Linked DNA regions of Homo sapiens: region 2 is linked to region 1. The links are contacts of gene promoters, found by promoter capture Hi-C in human tissues and cell types (Jung and others, 2019). All regions are on one chromosome and are shown on one strand. Each heading gives the region's core, a stretch centred on a gene start or on the middle of the fragment in contact. The rest is flanking DNA. Distances are from core to core; before and after follow the strand shown. Region 1 holds the start of TNFRSF11B (TNF receptor superfamily member 11b). Region 2 overlaps LOC124902009 (a long non-coding RNA gene).

Region 1 (4,215 bases), core at 861-3,360:
ATGTGCCGGACACTATTTTTAGTGTTTTACATCTTTTATCTAATTCAATCTTTATAATAACCGTTATGATACTTTGAGGTAGATGTGATTATTATCCTCATTATAGGAATAACAAAAAATGGAAACAAAAATAGGTTAGGCAACTAGTCTGAGGTCACAGAGCTAGGAAAAATTGGAGTTGGGGCTCAAATCTAGGTTACAAAGGCCAGTATCTTAGGTATTCCCCTAGAATAATCATAACTATAGGAAATATTTCCTATGGGCCAGGCATTGTGCTGAGTTATTTTACATGCATTACTTTATTTAATGCTCATAATTAGTGATTACCATCATTTATATAATTGTTTTTTAAACGCTCCCATTTGCTTTCTCTTACGTTTCTGCAATATCAGTGTGTTTTTATCTTATAGATGAGGCTCAGGGAGACGTAAACCTTTCCCAGGGTTAACACTGAAGGACTCAGTTATTGATTAGTTTTCTCCAAGGTCTGACACCCACATATTGGCATCATTTTATGTTCTGAGAAAAACACCTTCAAATAATATCCTAGACAAACATTACTCTAACAAAAACAATAATACTGCTATTTATATTGTGTTTCACTACTAACACTTGGATTGACTTGAGTCCCATGGCAAGTCTAAGTGTTGATATCTCAGGTTGCAGATGTCAAAACTACGATTCAAAATACAAGGAGTGATTTGGAGTCATACAATTTTGTCCACACTCACTGAGCTACATTTATTCACTAGTTCACTTAAGAAACCAGCATGCTGTTACATTCTGGCCCTTGAGGGACAAAGCTGAATGACACCCCGTCTTCTGTAATTTGCAGGATGGAACAGTCTGTGGATCCACTTTGAACTCGTGGTGGAAGGATGTCCCTTGGAAGGGGCAGATGCTCTGATCCTGGTAAGCCATCCTTGCTCCCCAGGGGTCCCCTCTCCTGATTCTTCACCTTCCTTCCCTTGAATCTGGTGAAAGGCAGTATTTGCCCTTCTCTGGAGACATATAACTTGAACACTTGGCCCTGATGGGGAAGCAGCTCTGCAGGGACTTTTTCAGCCATCTGTAAACAATTTCAGTGGCAACCCGCGAACTGTAATCCATGAATGGGACCACACTTTACAAGTCATCAAGTCTAACTTCTAGACCAGGGAATTAATGGGGGAGACAGCGAACCCTAGAGCAAAGTGCCAAACTTCTGTCGATAGCTTGAGGCTAGTGGAAAGACCTCGAGGAGGCTACTCCAGAAGTTCAGCGCGTAGGAAGCTCCGATACCAATAGCCCTTTGATGATGGTGGGGTTGGTGAAGGGAACAGTGCTCCGCAAGGTTATCCCTGCCCCAGGCAGTCCAATTTTCACTCTGCAGATTCTCTCTGGCTCTAACTACCCCAGATAACAAGGAGTGAATGCAGAATAGCACGGGCTTTAGGGCCAATCAGACATTAGTTAGAAAAATTCCTACTACATGGTTTATGTAAACTTGAAGATGAATGATTGCGAACTCCCCGAAAAGGGCTCAGACAATGCCATGCATAAAGAGGGGCCCTGTAATTTGAGGTTTCAGAACCCGAAGTGAAGGGGTCAGGCAGCCGGGTACGGCGGAAACTCACAGCTTTCGCCCAGCGAGAGGACAAAGGTCTGGGACACACTCCAACTGCGTCCGGATCTTGGCTGGATCGGACTCTCAGGGTGGAGGAGACACAAGCACAGCAGCTGCCCAGCGTGTGCCCAGCCCTCCCACCGCTGGTCCCGGCTGCCAGGAGGCTGGCCGCTGGCGGGAAGGGGCCGGGAAACCTCAGAGCCCCGCGGAGACAGCAGCCGCCTTGTTCCTCAGCCCGGTGGCTTTTTTTTCCCCTGCTCTCCCAGGGGCCAGACACCACCGCCCCACCCCTCACGCCCCACCTCCCTGGGGGATCCTTTCCGCCCCAGCCCTGAAAGCGTTAACCCTGGAGCTTTCTGCACACCCCCCGACCGCTCCCGCCCAAGCTTCCTAAAAAAGAAAGGTGCAAAGTTTGGTCCAGGATAGAAAAATGACTGATCAAAGGCAGGCGATACTTCCTGTTGCCGGGACGCTATATATAACGTGATGAGCGCACGGGCTGCGGAGACGCACCGGAGCGCTCGCCCAGCCGCCGCCTCCAAGCCCCTGAGGTTTCCGGGGACCACAATGAACAACTTGCTGTGCTGCGCGCTCGTGGTAAGTCCCTGGGCCAGCCGACGGGTGCCCGGCGCCTGGGGAGGCTGCTGCCACCTGGTCTCCCAACCTCCCAGCGGACCGGCGGGGAGAAGGCTCCACTCGCTCCCTCCCAGGAGAGGCTTGGGGTTAGGCTGGAGCAGGAAACCGCTTTCAAGTTATGCCATGCTTCCCCTAGGGTGTCCTTTTACGCTGCAAAGTTCCTGCTGACTTTATGGAAGACAGCAAGAGAGAGACAGACAGCGAGAGAGAGGGAGAGAGAGAGAGAGAGAGAAACTTGTTTGAAAGTTTTAGTCATTAACCTTCTGTCTTCATCTCAGAATATTAACGCCCTCATGTAGTCCATACTATCTTTGCTTAATGAACTTGAACTTTTATTATTAGTGGCAAAGAAGTGGTCCCTTAGATTCAGAGTAAGTTGGAAGAAGACGTTAGTCTTCTTAAAACCATTATAATTAGAATATGACATGATAGATTTTTCTAATGTAAATATTATGTGAAATTTTGAATAATTAGGAGAAAAGATCTCTCACACACACACTTCTTAACTGTGTAATGTTTTAATAAAATTTTATTGTTAAAATTATTTCACTTCTCAACTTCAATATACTGTGGAGAATATTGGCAGTATGTTATGTTCTAAAACATATCTAAAGAATTGAAGTTCACTAAATAGGGCTAAAAATTGTGTTTAAAATGTTATTTGGAAAAGAAAGGAATCTCTGTGACTTAGCTTTTTTTTTAAGCTTAGGTTTTGATCAAGTTAATAAGATTTGCATGTAGGTTTTTCTATGACCAATGACTTATTTTCTCTATGACACTAGAGTGTAGAGTACATCAAGATATGAATCAGACATTTATGCAAGGCTAGGAAAAGCCATATTTAAGCCACATATGTGTTTTGGATGTGTTTGAGTAAATGTTTGAACTTCAACCTCCAACCCACAAATAATGAATAGAAGGCTAGGTAGTCTTCTACTTAGTTCCTAGGATACAGAAACATAAATAAGTAAATAAATAGTAAAGACACTAAAGAACAGGTAAGTTGGATAGGAATCTACCCATAAGTATGTTAAAATATATATGTATGTATGTGTGTGTGTGTATAACTTCATCGCTAGAGATACTATGGAGTGCTTTTAAAAAAGTAAACCTTTATTAAAATATAACACATAGAGAATTGTGCAAGTGGTAAGTGCCTAATGCAGTTTTTCTAAGTGAGCACTTGTGAGCTAGCACACAGATCAAGAAATATATTATCGGCACCTCAAGAGCTTCCATCACTACTGTGTCTATGGCCAGAACAATCAGTATTCTGATTTGAACAACATAGATGAATTTTGCTTGTATTTGAACTTCCTATAAATGGAACTTATTCAATTTTTTGCATTTGACTTCTTTCACTGAAAGTTCTGTTGTGAGATTCATCTCTACTGTAGGATATAGAATAATTTGTCCGTTGTCATTGCTGTATGGTATTCCATTGTATGGACACACCACAATTGATTTAATCATCCTAGTTTTGGGCTAGTATAAATAATGCTGCCGTTAATATGGGGACATTTTTATTCTTCCTAGCCCTTTTTATTTTGTCAAAGATTTAATTAATAACAAACATACTAGCAATGAGTTAAATTTCAGGGTTTCCACTAAATAATATATGTTTCTATTTAGAAGTATCCATAAATTTAAATAGTAAAATATTTTTATATGTGGTCTGTACAGGAAGATAGACAAACATGTAGATAATACTAATTTTAGATGATACAGCATTATCAGAAGATAAGACTTCGTATATGTCTTGAACACAGTAAATACTTTATATAGGAAGAATTTTGCTTCCCCTTTCTTTAGCTTCTGAGACTTACTTTATTTTGAAAATGATTGCAAATGGACACTTTGTATTTACACATAGAGTCCAGATGCCCTTTTGTAAAACCAAGGTGCCACTGTAGGAACTAGAAGCACCACAGATATTTATTTCTTTATAATGGGCATTCCACTGGCACTAGGCA
Region 2 (4,215 bases), core at 1,129-3,628, 410 kb before region 1:
AGGCACGTGCCACCACGCCTGGCTAATTTTTGTATTTTTTTAGTAGAGACAGGGTTTCACCATGTTGGCTAGGATGGTCTCGATCTCTTGACCTCGTGATCTGCCTGCCTTGGCCTCCCAAAGTGCTGGGATTACAGGTGTGAGTCACCACGACTGGCCGGTGAATTTGTTTTTTAACATGTTGCCAAGAGGGACTTGGAGGGTTGACTAAACAGATTTGGAGCTCAGGAGAGAGAAACAAACTGGAAGTCTAGCTTTAGAATCAATGAGTGTTTACTTGGTAATACCAAGAAAGTAGATGAGTTTTTTTTTTTTTTTTTTTGTATTTCATGTAATAAATGAGGTGTTGTAATTGCTCCTCACAACCCCCACTCTTGCTGTGGACTCACCAGGACATAGAATGAAAACATCTCCACTATCCCCACTTCTTCCAAGAAAATCCAGCAGGTCTGAATTCTCCTTATCTCCAAGGGTCAGTGAACTCTGTGTGTGTGCATGCATGTGTGTGTGTGTGTGTGTGTGTACACTCATGCATGCAAGCCTAGGCTTGTGCATGTACAAGGCTCTCGGTATGATGAGGCTCCATTGTCAGAGACAAAATGAGGAGGCAGGCTGTGGTTTCAGTGGATTGAAACAGAGCCCAGTCTAAACCAGATAGATAATTTTACCAGACTGCAAATGTGAACAAAGTGTAATGAATTGGATAATTCCTGCTCATAATAAAACTATGAAGGTAGAAAGCTCTTTGGTGTAGGGGACTTACGCTGGTACCAGGAGAGACTTGGCACCAAGCTCCTCCTTTGGGAGCCTAGGTAAAGATCTCTATATCTGAAGGTGACATGAAGAACATGAGGCTGCTAGAAAAAGCTGTGCATATTTGAGTGGATAACAGTCTTAGGAAACAAACAATCACAATGTCTACCACTTTGTTATTGAAGATGAGATGCCACTGTCACAGTCTTCCTTGACTATGTAAGTCTGGGTTCTGTTACCCACAAAGAGTAGGGTAGAAAACATCCAGAATTGGCCCTAAAGCTTTTGCTTCTCTTAGTAAGTGGATACTTAAACCAGGTTTAATTTACTTTAGTGGGAGTAGGGGATACGGTGACATTTCTTTCACCTATATTATTAATAGAACATCTGTGACTATGGATAAATAACCTAGGGATGAAGAGGTTTAATATCCCTTTTCTAAAATCACATAAGCCATTCTTCTGCCTTCTAAATCCAGGTTGTTGTTTTTTTTCACTAAGATGGGTTGAAAGAAAATTCAGAGCTTCTAATCCCTGGTACCCTCATCTTTGCTCTACGCTACTTTCTTACAAAAGCAAGTTACCTTTGAATCTAACAGGTATGGTCACTTGAGGATGAGGAGAGTTATGTGCAAAGATGACACCCCTGTGATCAGAAGACATTCTCATAAGGATTCATATTGAATGAAATAGGATTCTGATCTATAGTGTTATATTTCTGATGCACAATACTGATGTTTGCCAAAATTAGCTTCCCCTCATTCTTGTTACCTTTAATGGCTAGGTTATTTCAGCTCAACATATAGTATCTATATGGACCTGAATTATTCATGAGGCTGAAAGCATAGCTGTATTCAAAGGTGTTCTGGGTGACCTGCGTTTCACAAGCTGCTTCATCAAAGCTGAGCATGGTTCCCTGGGTTTTAGTGATGCTCTCATCTGCCAGAGACTGACTGGAATATGCAGTCACTCATGGTGAAAGGGAAACATGTTTCTCATTCAGCAAGTATGTGGTTCCATCCACAGAGTTTACAGCACGGTTGTATTTGAAGTTCAGTCCTAGAACTTTGTAGCAGTAAAAATGATCGTGATTTATAGGAAAATGTCACTCGGCCATCTCCACTATAAAAGCCTTTTATAACTCTCATCGAATATAAATCAGGATGTATGCAGCCAACAAAATGATGATTTTGGCATAACGTTTTCAAGACAAAAAGAAATGGCCTAGAATTGTCTTGGCTTTTTACTGAGGACAAATATTACAGGAATTTATTGCTGGTCCAAGATCAATATTCCTGTCTTTAAAAATAGATATGAGTAAATTTATGTCTTGGTGAAATTCCAATTACATAAATTAATTAAAGCAGTCACCACAGAGTTCACCCACAAATACCAAGGATGCCATGCCCTTTTTTTTTTTTAGGTTTTAGCTTTTGTTAAACCATATTCTAAGATACATAACTCAAGCTTAAAGCTATATTTCATTCTAATGGGGGAGGAAAAGGATGGGCCTCACAAAGGATTGATTCAAACTTGCTAAATTTCATGGTGGAAATACAAAAGAAGCTTCATATTGTACTCTTCTCCAAATGTCAACAAGATGTGAAAAATGATGATCGAACAAAAACTGCATTTGAAGTGATGGCCCCATTTTCTCATGTATTTTTGCATCACAGAATACTCAAGGTAGAGATCAGCATAAAGAAGTGAGGGCCAGGTGCAGTAGCTCACTTCTGTAATCCCGGCACTTTGGGAGGCTGAGGCGGGTGGATCACCTGAGGTCAGGAGTTCAATACCAGCCAGGCCAACATGGCAAAGCCCCATCTCTACTAAAAATACAAAAATTAGACAGGCATGGTGGCGGGTGCCTGTGATCCCAACTACTTGGGAGTCTGAGTCAGGAGAATCACTTGAACCCGGGAGGCAGAAGTTGCGGTGAGTGGAGATCGTGCCACTGCACTCCAGCCCGGGAGACAGAGTGAGACGCCGTCTCAAAAATAAATAAATAAATAAATAAATAAATAAATAAATAAATAAATAAATAAAAATAAAAAGAAGTGAGGATTGAGAGAATCCACGATCATGTGAGAATCTGGAAAGAACATCCAGTTCTGTGGCAGCGAAGGAGAGGAGGTAAAAGATCCTTACGTGACTGCCTCAGGGGTGGAAAAAGAATGTTGAGATGCATTGGGAAGAATGATCTCTAAAAGGCTATAAGGAGGTGCTCAGAAAGCAAATCAGGTAAATAAAAAAAAACTTGGCTTTTCTTTTTTTCAGGCAAGTGAGCTCACTCCCCTTACTCCTCTCACTCCAGCACTTACCTTGACATATCTCACCCAAAATATTGTTGAGAGGCAATATTAGGCTCTATGCTGGGCAACTTCGAAGTCCTACTGCTGGCGTGAAGTGAAGGGCAGTCAATATAAGAACTTTTAGGAACTGTTGAAGGAATCAGAAATGTTCATCCTAGACAAGGGAAGTCCCTAGAGACCATGGTACCTGTTGTGTAGAAAAGGAAATATACCTGTTGTGTGAGGTCTCAATGGTTTGATGTAGTATTAATAGAAAGATCTCACATTCATATATTCCACAAAATGTGTATTAAGCGTTATATGCCAGGCAGAGTTTTAGGCACTGAAAATACAGAGAGAGAGAGAGAGAGAGAGAGAGGGTTTTGATTTAATATAAAGCACAGCATTCTTCCCGTTTCTTTTTTTATTTTTAAATTTGAGACAGGGCCTCACTCTATCACCCAGGCTGGAGTGCAGTGGTATAATCTCGGCTCACTGCAACCTCTGCCTCCCAGATTCCAGCCGTTCTCCCACTTCAGCCTCCCCAGTAGCTGGGACTACAGATGCATGCCACTACACCAGACAAATTTTTGTATTTTTTGGTAGAGAATGGGTTTCACCTTATTAGCCATGCTGGGCTCGAACTTCTGACCTCAAGTGATCCGCCTGCCTTGGCCTCCCAAAGTGCTGGGATTACAGGCGTGAGCCACTGTGCGCAGCCTATTCTTCCCTTTTCTTAATCAACATTATTGATTCTAGGTAGTATTCTAAAAAACATCATTTCACATATGGTTCTACTGCTCCTTTCATTGGCCAGTGTTTCCTCTTAGCCTTTGCTTATATAGCAGAAAATCTCTATCATAGTTATAAGGATCAGATATAATTTTATTCTACTTTTAAAATTTAAAAATAGGCCAATCGCTTCCTATGAGTATGAGGTATGAACTTTTTGGTGATGCACTGGGCTGACCTACAAACCAGTGAGTTTTCTATCCTGGGGTCTTTTAAGAAGAATCCAGGTGATTACTTGGAAGTTATTCAAATATTTATAGCAAGGCTGTAGGGATTGTTTTGAGAAGACACTAAAAGAAGGATAATGTGAAAAGAGGCCTAGTGACTCAGAGGTCTGGTGTTAGTGTATATAAAGGGGTTTAATATTGAAGCAGTATTTG

The links. Contacts are between HindIII fragments. The study calls those that stand out against the background at their distance.
Region 2: a fragment that was not itself captured here is called in contact with the fragment with the promoter of TNFRSF11B in region 1 in 1 of the 25 tissues and cell types used here (mesenchymal stem cells).

Annotation. Positions count from the first base shown.
Region 1 is chr8:118,949,780-118,953,994 of GRCh38, reverse strand. It overlaps TNFRSF11B (TNF receptor superfamily member 11b), which reads left to right and starts at 2,110. Exons shown (of 5, transcript NM_002546.4): 1 at 2,110-2,203. The coding sequence starts at 2,174. It also overlaps a transcript of COLEC10 not described here. The HindIII fragment of the contact is 2,925 bases long and covers 1-2,469 here.
Region 2 is chr8:119,359,919-119,364,133 of GRCh38, reverse strand. All of the region lies in intron 1 of LOC124902009 (a long non-coding RNA gene), which reads left to right. Among named protein-coding and RNA genes, the nearest start is that of MIR548AZ, 37 kb to the right of the region's middle. The HindIII fragment of the contact is 4,422 bases long and covers 168-4,215 here.